Linked DNA regions of Homo sapiens: all the other regions are linked to region 1. The links are contacts of gene promoters, found by promoter capture Hi-C in blood cells and fetal thymus (Javierre and others, 2016). All regions are on one chromosome and are shown on one strand. Each heading gives the region's core, a stretch centred on a gene start or on the middle of the fragment in contact. The rest is flanking DNA. Distances are from core to core; before and after follow the strand shown.

Region 1 (2,694 bases), core at 1-2,500:
CCGCCACTGTTTTATTTTAATCCACACATTCCCAGTCCTGAGCAATCCTTACCCCAGAGCTCGATTTTCAGGGAACCACAAAAGACAAATAGGCCAGAATAATCTAAGTCCAAGGGAGCCCTCCCGGCCACTTACAAACAGGGTCTTCCATTTTCAAGGGTCTTTTCAAACGGATGTTGGCAGGGACCGTCTTCTCGATCAATTCATCAATGCTCTAAAATTAAAACGCAAGGCAGAGGAAAGTGCCTCTGAGTTAAAAGAGTCACCTCTGTGTTTTGCGACTACAAAGCCTTGTGGGAACCTCATTGAAATCGCCTAATTAGGGTTCTTTTTAAAAGAAAAGGAAAACTCTGAGCAAGCCAGAATGATTTGGAGGAAAGAAAATCGTGAAGTGGGGTGGAGATTCCGCCACTCGGGGTTGGATTTCAGTTGCAACCGGAGCTAACCGGTAAGCCCACTCTTAATCAGGGGGTCTTCCTCCTCTTGCAAAGTTTAGGTCCATCCACAGGGCCACTTGGGCTGGGGGTGGTTTAAAAATGTACACTTTTGAGGCACGAAGACTGGGTGCAGGAGAAAGTAAGCTGTTAAGAAGTAAGAAGGCACGAGGACCAAAGGCACGAATTTGCTTCCACGCCACGGCCCGGGACCCAGGGTGCGGGGACCACGCGGAGCGCAGCAGAGCTCAGGGTAGGAGCCGGGAGGCCGCGCAGGCAGAGCCCGGGCAGGGCGGAGGGGAGGCCGCGGAGGGCCGGGTGGAGGTCCTTACCGCCAGCCCCAAGGTCTGCAGCATCTCTCTCTGGTCTTTGTCCCCAGGGCCGATGTGCCTCCGAGCGAAGTCGTCGTGTCTGGGCAGAAGGCGCTCCAGGAGGCGCGAGGCCCCAGCCGCGGCGCTGTCCCCGCCGCCACTGCTGCTGTCCCGGCTCCGCGGCGCCCAGCACGGCCCCGATCCCCCAGCCAGGCGGCGGCCGCCCCCGACCCCGCGGCCCAGGCGCAGCCCCCACGCCCTGGCACAGGACTGCATGGCCGCGGCCACCGTCCCCTGCCCCGGCCCGCAAGGGTCAGCCGCGCTCTTGGCCCCTCTCCTGGCCTCGGTCCCCCGGGTGGCGGCTGCGCCCGGCCTGGAGCCCCTTTCGCTGGACAGTCGGCCGGACAGATGGATGGACGCTCGCGGGCAATGAATGGGCGCTGCGCTCAACCAAGACACTCGCGCAAAGTTGTGGCTCCACCCAAGGCACCTGCTCCGCACACTTTAAGCGGCGCCCTGGAGGCGGGAGGTGGGTTGGGGCCAGGAAGCCCTTGGCCAATGAAAGTAGACAGAGGGGGAGGGGGCGGAACAGTTCCCGCCCCCGCCCCCTCTTCCTACCCTCTTCCCAGCCCTTCCGTGGAGTCCCGCTTCCCCTGGACCGGAGGCTGCCATCTCCAGTCCTACCCACTCCGACGCTGGCTGGTGCCGGGGGCCGGGACGCTCCGTACGCCGCCCGCCAGGGTGTGGAGCCGCACTGGGGCAAGATCAGGTGGGACAGCCCAAAGACTCCGGGCCAAGTTCCTGGGGGACTCGGCGGAGATGGAAGATGATTCTCGAAGCTCTCCATTTCCTTAATTTTGAGGTATCTTTCTCTGTCACATTTCATCTCAGGGAAATTAATATGGGCAGATGGCGGTTCTTTTATCTTTGCGGGAGCGTGATAAAGTTACTCAACCTCTCAGAGCTTCAGTTTTCTCATCTCAACAGAGCTGGATGGGATTTTAAAAAGAGATTATATGTACATGGAAAGCACTTGAACAGTAGATTTGAACACCCTCTCTATATTTCTTTTCTTTTCTTTCTTCCTTCTTTCTCCTCCTCCTCCTCCTCCTCCTTCTTCTCACTCTCTCTCTTTCTCTCTCTTCCCCCCCACCACATGTAACGCTATGGCTCACGCCTGTAATCGCAACACTTTCGGAAACCGACGCGGTAGGATAGCTTGAGCCCAGGAGTTCGAGACCAGCTTGGGCAGCATTGTGAAACCCTGTCTCTACAAAAAATACAAAAATTAGTGGGGCGTGGTTGCGTGCTTCTGAAGTCCCAGCTACTCTGGAGGCTGAGGTGGGAGGATTGCTTGAGTCAGGGAGTTTCAGGCTGCAGTGAGATGTGATCGCACCACTGCACTCCAGCGTGGGCCACAGAACGAGACTCAGGAAAAAAAAAAAAAAAAGAACTGTGTGTGTGTGTGTATATGTTTTTTTAAATATATGTACTGTATATACATATACGTGTGTGTGTAAAACTACAAAGGATATTTTGTTGTTGTTTTTGAGACGGAATCTCGCTCTGTCGCCCTGGCTGGAGTGCAGTGGCGCGATCTTGGCTCACTGCAACCTCCACCTCCCGGGTTCAAGCGATTGTCCTGCCTCAGGCTCCTGAGTAGCTGGGACTACAGGCACGTGCCACCACGGCCGGCCATTTTTTATTTTTATTTTTAGTAGAGACGGGGTTTCACCGTTTTAGGCAGGATGGTCTCGATCTCCTGACCTCGTGATCCGTCATTACAGGCGTGAGCCACTGCGCCCAGCAAAAGTACAAAGGATATTAAGATAGACATTGTTCACTGTCGTCTTACTTTGAAAGTTAGCCATCTAGAACTGGATTTTTTGTAAATGTACCATCTCCAGCTGTCTCATGACAGTTTTAGCAAGAGAATGAACTTTTAAAAT
Region 2 (2,694 bases), core at 88-2,587, 690 kb before region 1:
GGAAGGTTTTATAAAAACAGTAATTTGGAGGAAATAAAATTCTTCCTCAACCTCTCCCCACCAGCCCTACTCTGATTAGCTTAAAAAAAAAGCGCCATTTGATTTTGTATTCATTTATAAGCACAACAGAGGTCACCCTTGATAGTCCCATGAATTTCATCTTATTGTTACACAGGCACTAAACACAGGTACTAAATTCTCAGTTAACTCTAGCAGCTACTCTATTTGAATGGACTGAGAAGCTAAGGTGGTTACTTGGTATTTCAGTTCACCACGTCATTAGGATGCTTAAATGTTATTAGGAAATTGGAGGTAATGTTACATATTGGTTATAAGCTTGAGTTTTAGAACTAAACTACCTGGGTTTGAGTGCCTGCTACAACCACCTACTATTATAGAGGTCATGTATAACAGCTATCACATACAAGACCTTGAGCAAACTGCTTTATTTCTTTGTGCAGTTTCTTCATCTGTAAAACAAGGGATAATAGTATTACCTACTCTGTGAGAATTAAATGGGTTATAACACCCCAAAAGCTTATACTACTGCTAGGCACATGGTAGGTGATCAATAAATGTTAGCTATTGCTTTAGCTTTAGCTAAGCTATGGTGAGAAAAGCCTAAACAGAAAATCTTTTAATTTTCTTTAAATTCTTTTTACTTACTCCATCTCAGTTCTTCTTATGCATGTCCTCTAAACTACCACTCTACTTTGTACACAAATCAATGAATGTAATACTTAACTTAGAGTACTGTAATTGTCTGTTCTTATGTTTGTCATCCTTACTATACTGTAAATTATTGGTGACAGAAATCACATTATTCACTCTGTATTTACAGCATTTAGCACACATAAGTTCTAAGAAGTGATCCCTAAATACAAGAATCCTACTTTTTTCAGAAATGTCACCAACAGTCTAGGGGGTAGGAAAAGGGATGCAGGTAACTGTTTACAATTCTGAGGGTCCATTTAAGTCTACTTTATAGTGAAGAAAACACTGACAACGATTTTAAATAATTTAAACAATTCACCAAAGAGTTTCAACATGACCTAGTAGTGGTAGTAAGAAGATTAACATTTATTGAGAACCTGCTGTGTGTCAGATACTTAGTAAAGTGGTCTGTATAAATTAACTTATTTATTTCTCAATATAACCCTCCCAGGTAGGTAATAACTCTACTGTAATACTGGATAACTGAAGATCAAAAAGATTAATTAACTCACTCATGTGTCACACAGTAAGTAAGCACCACAGTCAGGGATTCTAACTACAAAGTCTAAGCTCCTTCCATTATGTAATTCTACTGCACAAATATCTTAAGTTACCATTTATTGATTCCTACCATGTGCCAAGCTCCAAGTGACATACTGCGCATTTGTTATTCTAATTAATCTTAACAATACAGCCAAGTAGGTATTACCTCACTTATCACAGATAAAGAAACAGGCTATAAACAGGTAAAGAAACTGATGGAGGAGCTGTAGCTAATATGCACTAGGAGCATACATGTGAAATTAGGTCTGTCTCACTTCAAAGCTGTACTCTTTTTATGGTAAAATACTGCATTCTTTCAAATTTTTGAAAGGGATGTAATCTGCTTCTGTTTGGTTCAGAGCATTCCTTTTTATTAGGGTTGGATGATTTGTACATTTACTATTTTTTAATACCTTCAGTATATATCCTGAAAAAAACAATTTCAGTATAAATTTTCCTGTATTCTTCAGTAAAAACATCAGCACTTCAAAAAAATTAAATATTATTTTAAAAATCGAGCATGAGATACTACAAAATCATGCCTTTATTTGGTAACCTGTTTTTGCTTCAGGACAAAATATATACAGGGCAAGTTACATACTACCAGTGGGCTTCCCTTCCCTTATCACTCAACTTGATCATATCCCAGGCCTTTTACTTCCACTGCCCTAAGTTACTTGGTCATATAAAATAGAATAAAATTCTCAAACCTATAATTATGCTGAAATCAGAAGTCAAATTAAAACATACACAGAATTTCAATACCACTCTTGAGCCTAAAACAGAAAGTGTCAGCCTGTACCTGGAAAATGCATAAGGAAACATTAATAAACCTTAATAATAAACCTTAGTAATTAATGTTACAAAAGTATACCCTAATGAAGCTTTCTAAAACACTATGCTTAGAACAACTTAAGAAAAGAATGCCCAACCTGAGAGGGAAAATTATAACTAAAGATATATTTTATACTGTAACTGAGGAATAAAACTCTAGTTTTCTAGAATCTGGAAATATGCCTTTTATAAAAGAAATGGCATATTTCTTTACATAAGAAGGTGATTATCATCCCCCTTTCAGTTCCCCTTTCTCAGTTTCTTATTCCTCATTCTTTACCCTTCTCCTTCACCTGGTTTTCCTGTCTTCACTCCTCAGACCTCTGGGCTACTCATACTCAGACTTCCACTTTAAGCCAAGTGTGGTGGTGCATGCCTGTGATCCCAGCTCGCCTGTGGTCCCAGCTACTTGGGAGGCGGAGGTGAGAGGATGGCTTGCGCCCCGGAGTTCGAGGCCAGGTGGGCAACATAGCGAGATCCTGTCTCTCAGGGAGGGATAGGAGGAAGAAAAAGAACAGAAAAAAAAAGGTACTTCAATGCTTTCCTAGATTTAGCCTTTCCATGTTTTAAAATTATCCCAACACATTCACTCCTCCCTCTGTA
Region 3 (2,694 bases), core at 65-2,564, 600 kb before region 1:
ATGCTGGGTGTAGTAGCAATATGCATGGTGTGTGAGCAGATTCACTGTCTCCTGTGGGAATGGCAGAGGCCTCTTGAAGCTTATCTCACTCCCCAGTGGTGTGCACTTTTTATTTATTTATTTTTCCCCCAGTATTTCATTTACTGGGTTGAACAGTTCAGGCTTCAGGCCAGTAGAGCAGGTGTCCATGGTTAAACATTGGCTGTGGCTAAAGCAGTTGGGTAAACGCAATACCCAATGGTGGGCAGAGGTCCCAGCCTTGACAGAAATGGCTGGGGGAGTTCTCAGTGAAACACACTGAGGTCTTATCAGGAGGAAAAGTGGGAGCCACCTCAGCTTCCCTGCCAGTCCAGCAGGAAAGCTATCCACTTTCCAGTCAAACTCCTGACCCAGTGTTCTGGCTATTCAGATCAGACAGGCACCTCTTTTCATTTGCAGGAATGTTGATATTCCATGTAGAGAGGGATGGTGATCTCTATTCCTCATGCAAGTCTGAACCTGGAGGGTACTCCTTCTGTGGGGATGCAGTCACCCTAAAGTGTTCCCAAAAGGCTGTCTACTGTTTGCACCCATGCTGAGCTCCTATGGGAGAAGCCCCAGCTGTGTCTGCAGTGGTGGGTGAGGGGAAGAAGAAATCCCCTTCTCCAAGACCCTTCATGAGCACCAGGGCTGCCTGTTGGGTAGAGTCATAGACTTTCCCCCACTGGGCTCAGCACTGCATCTGTACCTCTGCTGAAATAAACTTCCCACAAGAAGAAAGTCCTGGGACTCAAGGTTTGCCACCTGGATTCTTTTGTCCCATGGGGGTACTCCCTTGATAAGGTATACCCCCCTTTCCCCAGGAGTAGGAGTCCCTGAAGGCCAGACTACTGTGAATGCTGCTGCTCCTCTGTGTCTAGCTGTCCAGTTGGGCTGCCATCCTCCAGGCCGGTGCTAAGGAATGTCTGCAAGGGATCCAATGATGTGACCTGTCCTCAAGTCTCCCAGCAGTGGGTACCAGCACCAGATCAGATAGAGGTGGCTGGGGAGTGATGTAGACTCTGTGAGATTCTTTGGTTATAAATAGCCTTGGTGTGTTGGCTTTCTCAAATGCCAGCTGTAGTAGTAATGAACTGGTCACACGGACAGACTTAGGACCTCCTGGTTAGTAGGGTAATGAAAGCAATTGTGATAGCTGAGGTCATGCACAAGTTTTCGCCTTCCTGAGCACTGTGTTCTTCTGCCTGAAGATGCTGTAGTGGCTGTATCAGCTGGCCTCCATCTTTGATCGTTTCATCACATCACTTCCTAAAAAATGTGCTCATGTGCCAAGCTACCTCTCTTCCTTCATTCACGTATTTCCTGAAATGTGACCTTCGTTTGTGCTTGCCTTCTGTTACCCAGGGGAAGTACTCTGGTATCTCAGGCAATGAGCAGGGCCATAGGGCTCCCCAAAGTTTCTGTCCTTTGTGTTAGGTGATTAGCTCTGGTGGAGGGGCAAAGCCAGGTAGAGGCTGGTTCTTGGTGTGCAGACGCAAGCAGTGGCCCCAGTGGGGATCAGAGCAGTTCTCTGGCTGCTGGAGCACTGTTCCATGAGGGAGTACAGCTGCTTCTGCTGAATAGAAGAGTCTACAAGGGGAGTGGGGAGCAGCAGGTGGCAGTAAGCCGCACCTAGTTTCCATGCACTTGGCAAGGCAGGTCTCGCACCTGGAATGTTCCACTAGCAGCAGCTCACTGGGTTTAAGGCCTATGATCAGAACTCAAAACTGCCGCAGACCATAAGCCTTCTCCATGGAGGCAGATATTGAGGCTTTCAGGCCACACTCCTCCTGGTCTGCCCAAGAAGCAGGGGCACGCAGCTCCTGCTTAATCTCCATTGGGAGCTTCTCTCGTCCTGTGACTGCTGCCTGAATTAGCTGGCTGACTTCTAAAGTGAAGTACCCTGTGAGGCAGGATCAAGAATGGCTTCCCTCTGTCCCCACTGGAGACTGGGAGTGCACACACAGCATGTCCCAATGCTACTCCTTCTCATATGCTCCCCACCGTTCACTGCATTAGCTCTAGCACTGGGTAGGGTTAAAACCTTCCCTTGTGGCCTGGATTGCCAGGTTCTCCGGTGGAAATGTATATCCCAGAGGCAGCTTCTCCCTGCTCACACTCTGGGGATTTTCAGGTTTACGCCTGGCTCATGGTGTAGGCTGCAGCCTGCCGCTTCTTTCAAAGGGTCTGGTTTCCATCAGTTTTCCTGTTAAGTTCCTGTGTTGCTTCTTGAAATAAAGTTCACAGTGTGAATCTCTACACACAATTTTGTCTTTCCAACTGGGAGAGGCATGCTAATGATGCCTCCAATCCGCCATCTTGGAAAAAACACCCACGATACTTTAAGACATGTTGAAATGTTTATATGGAAAAAAGAGGATACACAATATGTACACACTATATATACTTTGTATAAAAATATGGCTTTATGTTCATTGGTTTTTTTTTTGTTTTCATATAAAGTTTCTTAAGAGCTCTGATTTGTTTTAAAGATGTTGCTTTGATTTACATAACAATTCAGTGCAATATTCTAAGCTTGTGGCATTTACTCGATCTTTACCCCTGTTTTTTTTTAATGGAGAAAATGATGTATCATTAAAAATAAAGAAAATGTGATAGAGATGTCATAATGGCTGGACCAATGAATATGCTCCTACTCATATACTCCCCACCACT
Region 4 (2,694 bases), core at 103-2,602, 570 kb before region 1:
CCTCTAGCTGGGAACTACCACTCTAAAGATGGGTAGTTCTCACACTGACTTCGGACTCAAGCAATGTAACTTTCTGTGTCAAAGAAAAACTTGAAATATGTTTGTGTAGTGAAGCTTGCTCTCTTGTGCCTCTTATATCACCATGAGCAGAATGTCTCCAGGGAAGCTGCTCTGTCTTCATTCTGAGCCCTAGAATGAAGCATCTGGGGCACAGCCACCTTGGCTGATTCAAGAAGTGTGTATCTGAAGAAGTATGATCCAAAGAAGTAGGACCACCCCAGCTACCAAGTCCTGAAGTAGAGTTGTTTCATCCAACTTCAGACATGTGAGAAATAGATGGACATTGTATGCCACTGAGATTTTGTGGTTGTTTGTTATGCGGCAAAAGCTGACTGATACAGACCACTTAGCCAAAGTAAAGTATATTCAACTCTTAGTTATATTTATTGGATTTTTTAGTTGCTTACTATGTCTTGAGACTCTCCCTCACTCCTGTTTCCTTCCCTGATTGTAGCTAATCCTCTCTGTCAAGGATGCTTCTGCTTCAAACTAATCCTTCCAGCTCTCTTTTGAGAGATACCTGCAACCACTTGACCACCTACTTGATGTGAATTTAGGCAATGAACTTGGATTGTTTGTCCTTTTAGTATTGAATTTTATAGGGATTCTTTATACGTTCTGGATACAAATCCTTTGTCAGATATATAAATTGCAAATATTTTCCCCAATCTGTTGCATTTTTTCAGTTTAATAGCATCTTCTGATGAGCAAAAAGTAAAAGTAATTTTGATGAACCTAATCTATCTTTTTTTGTCTTTTCTGGTTAGAGCATTTTTTGTTCTAAAAAAGCTTTGCCTAGATTGCAAAGATATTCTCCTCTCTTTTCTTGTTTATAGTTGTAGCTTTAGTGTTTAGCTTCTATAGATTAACTTCATAGTCTTAGCTTTTGTATTAGGGCTATGAGCTACCTTGAATTAATTTTTGTGAATGGTGTGTGTTGTGGGTCAAGATTAATTTTCATTCATGTAAATACCCAGTTTTAGTAAATTTTAATATAATATCTTATGTTATTGAAAAAAGCAGGATGTAAAATATATACTGTAGGGTCAGAACCATTTTTAATCTTATTTAAAGAAATAGGAAATAAATGCAATCAGATTAATAGACGTTGTCATTGGTAGGACTTCGGGTGAGTTTTTTCTTCTTCCTACTTTTCTGTATTTTCCAGTTTTCTATTCTAAAGTTATATTAATGTAATAATTTGGAGAAAAGCTCTAGTTTTCTTTTCTTTTCTTTTTTTTGAGACAGAGTTTTGCTCTTGTCACCCAGGCTGCAGTGCAATGGCACAATCTCGGCTCACTGCAACTTCTGCCTCCCAAATTCAAGGAATTCTCCTGCCTCAGCCTCCTGAGTAACTAGAATTACAGGTGTGCACCACCACGTCTGGCTAATTTTTGTATTTGTAGTAGAGATGGGGTTTCACCATATTGGTCAGGCTGGCCTTGAACTCCTGACCTCAGGTGATCCACTCACCTCAGCCTCCCAAAGTGCTGGGATTACAGGCGTGAGCCACCATGCCTGGCCGAAATTGCAAGAACCTTTAAGGTGATCCCCCACAAACTGGAGCTAGGATTAAGGTGGTTCCTCAGGCCTTTGTTCTGCCTACAATGTTCATGAGAGTTGCTTTCTAGGTTTGATTGCTGCTCAAACATTCAAAATCTGAAATAGCAAAGAAAGAAAAAAGAGGAAATCTATTCCAAAGCAGCTACTGTAACTGAAAGTTGAATGCATGCTGAGAAACAGTATTATAATTTGATATAATTTGATATTTCAGCCTTATTTATTCTGAATTCCTAAAGCTTTGTAGGTATCCAATGCATTATGAAAAAATATTATTTACCTAGAAGCCTAGGGTGCCAAAGGGTATACCTTCTGTGTTTTATTTGGCCTGTGGACAGGGGAAATATTACATAATTCTGTAACTAAGGCCATCTCTCTGCAACTTCTCCATAGCATTCTGTGTCCTTGACCTTTACATAGTGGGCTGTACTGTCCCTGTCACAATGCTTGTGCATTATTCTTCTCTCAACCAGACCTCCTTATTTACTCCTAAGTAGCTAACTCTTATATTAATATACTGTCTCTAAACCCCATTCACTCCACCCAGACCTTTGCCCCTTCCTTTCCTCCTAGACCACATGGTTAGTTATTTCTAGTAGATTTGTTCTATTACCACAACTACCTTTCCTCCTATAGTTTCCTCCTTGACAGTGCTAGCTTCCAGAAAACATTTTGCTACACAGCCTTGTAACATTGTCACCTGTCATATTACAACTGATATGGGAGTGCTGAGAAGCGAAGAGCATCGTCCCTTTAAATGACACGGAAGCGGAAGCGGGGAAGGGAAGTGCTGGGTAGAGTAGGGCGTGGTCCCTGGCTAGGGATCCACCCCCAAGGACCTAGCGAAGGACAGGCACTCCTGCCTTGGAGCCTAAATGTTGCATTTCCCAAGACCACCCTGGCCTGCCATGCCCCATTCTGTGCCTATAAAAACTTGAGACCCTAGCAGGCACACACACACAAGTGGCTGGACAGAAGAAGACACAAATAGCTGGTCATGGAGAGCACGCCGCAGAAGAGCATGCTGACAGGCACCAGCAGGCCATCAACCAGCAGAAGACGAAGTTTGGCCAG

The links. The method cuts DNA at HindIII sites, captures the fragments that hold promoters and counts their contacts. A CHiCAGO score of 5 or more calls a contact.
Region 2: a contact is called between a fragment that was not itself captured here and the fragment with the promoter of GLDC in region 1, in 1 of 17 cell types (M1 macrophages). The highest score is 5.8, in M1 macrophages.
Region 3: a fragment that was not itself captured here is called in contact with the fragment with the promoter of GLDC in region 1 in 1 of 17 cell types (endothelial precursors); the score reaches 7.2 in endothelial precursors.
Region 4: a contact is called between a fragment that was not itself captured here and the fragment with the promoter of GLDC in region 1, in 1 of 17 cell types (endothelial precursors). The highest score is 5.2, in endothelial precursors.

What each region holds. Positions count from the first base shown.
Region 1 is chr9:6,644,479-6,647,172 of GRCh38, forward strand. GLDC (glycine decarboxylase) reads right to left here and starts at 1,251. Exons shown (of 25, transcript NM_000170.3): 1 at 767-1,251; 2 at 136-214. The coding sequence starts at 1,021. RefSeq lists enhancers at 461-1,018, 1,999-2,108, 2,159-2,258 and silencers at 699-768, 809-1,008, 1,079-1,328. The HindIII fragment of the contact is 9,537 bases long and covers 1-2,694 here.
Region 2 is chr9:5,956,043-5,958,736 of GRCh38, forward strand. The region is part of intron 3 of BRD10 (bromodomain containing 10); the gene reads right to left. Among named protein-coding and RNA genes, the nearest start is that of MIR4665, 50 kb to the right of the region's middle. The HindIII fragment of the contact is 1,604 bases long and covers 536-2,139 here.
Region 3 is chr9:6,044,493-6,047,186 of GRCh38, forward strand. No RefSeq gene overlaps it. Among named protein-coding and RNA genes, the nearest start is that of RANBP6, 30 kb to the left of the region's middle. The HindIII fragment of the contact is 2,474 bases long and covers 78-2,551 here.
Region 4 is chr9:6,070,657-6,073,350 of GRCh38, forward strand. No RefSeq gene overlaps it. Among named protein-coding and RNA genes, the nearest start is that of RANBP6, 56 kb to the left of the region's middle. The HindIII fragment of the contact is 1,010 bases long and covers 848-1,857 here.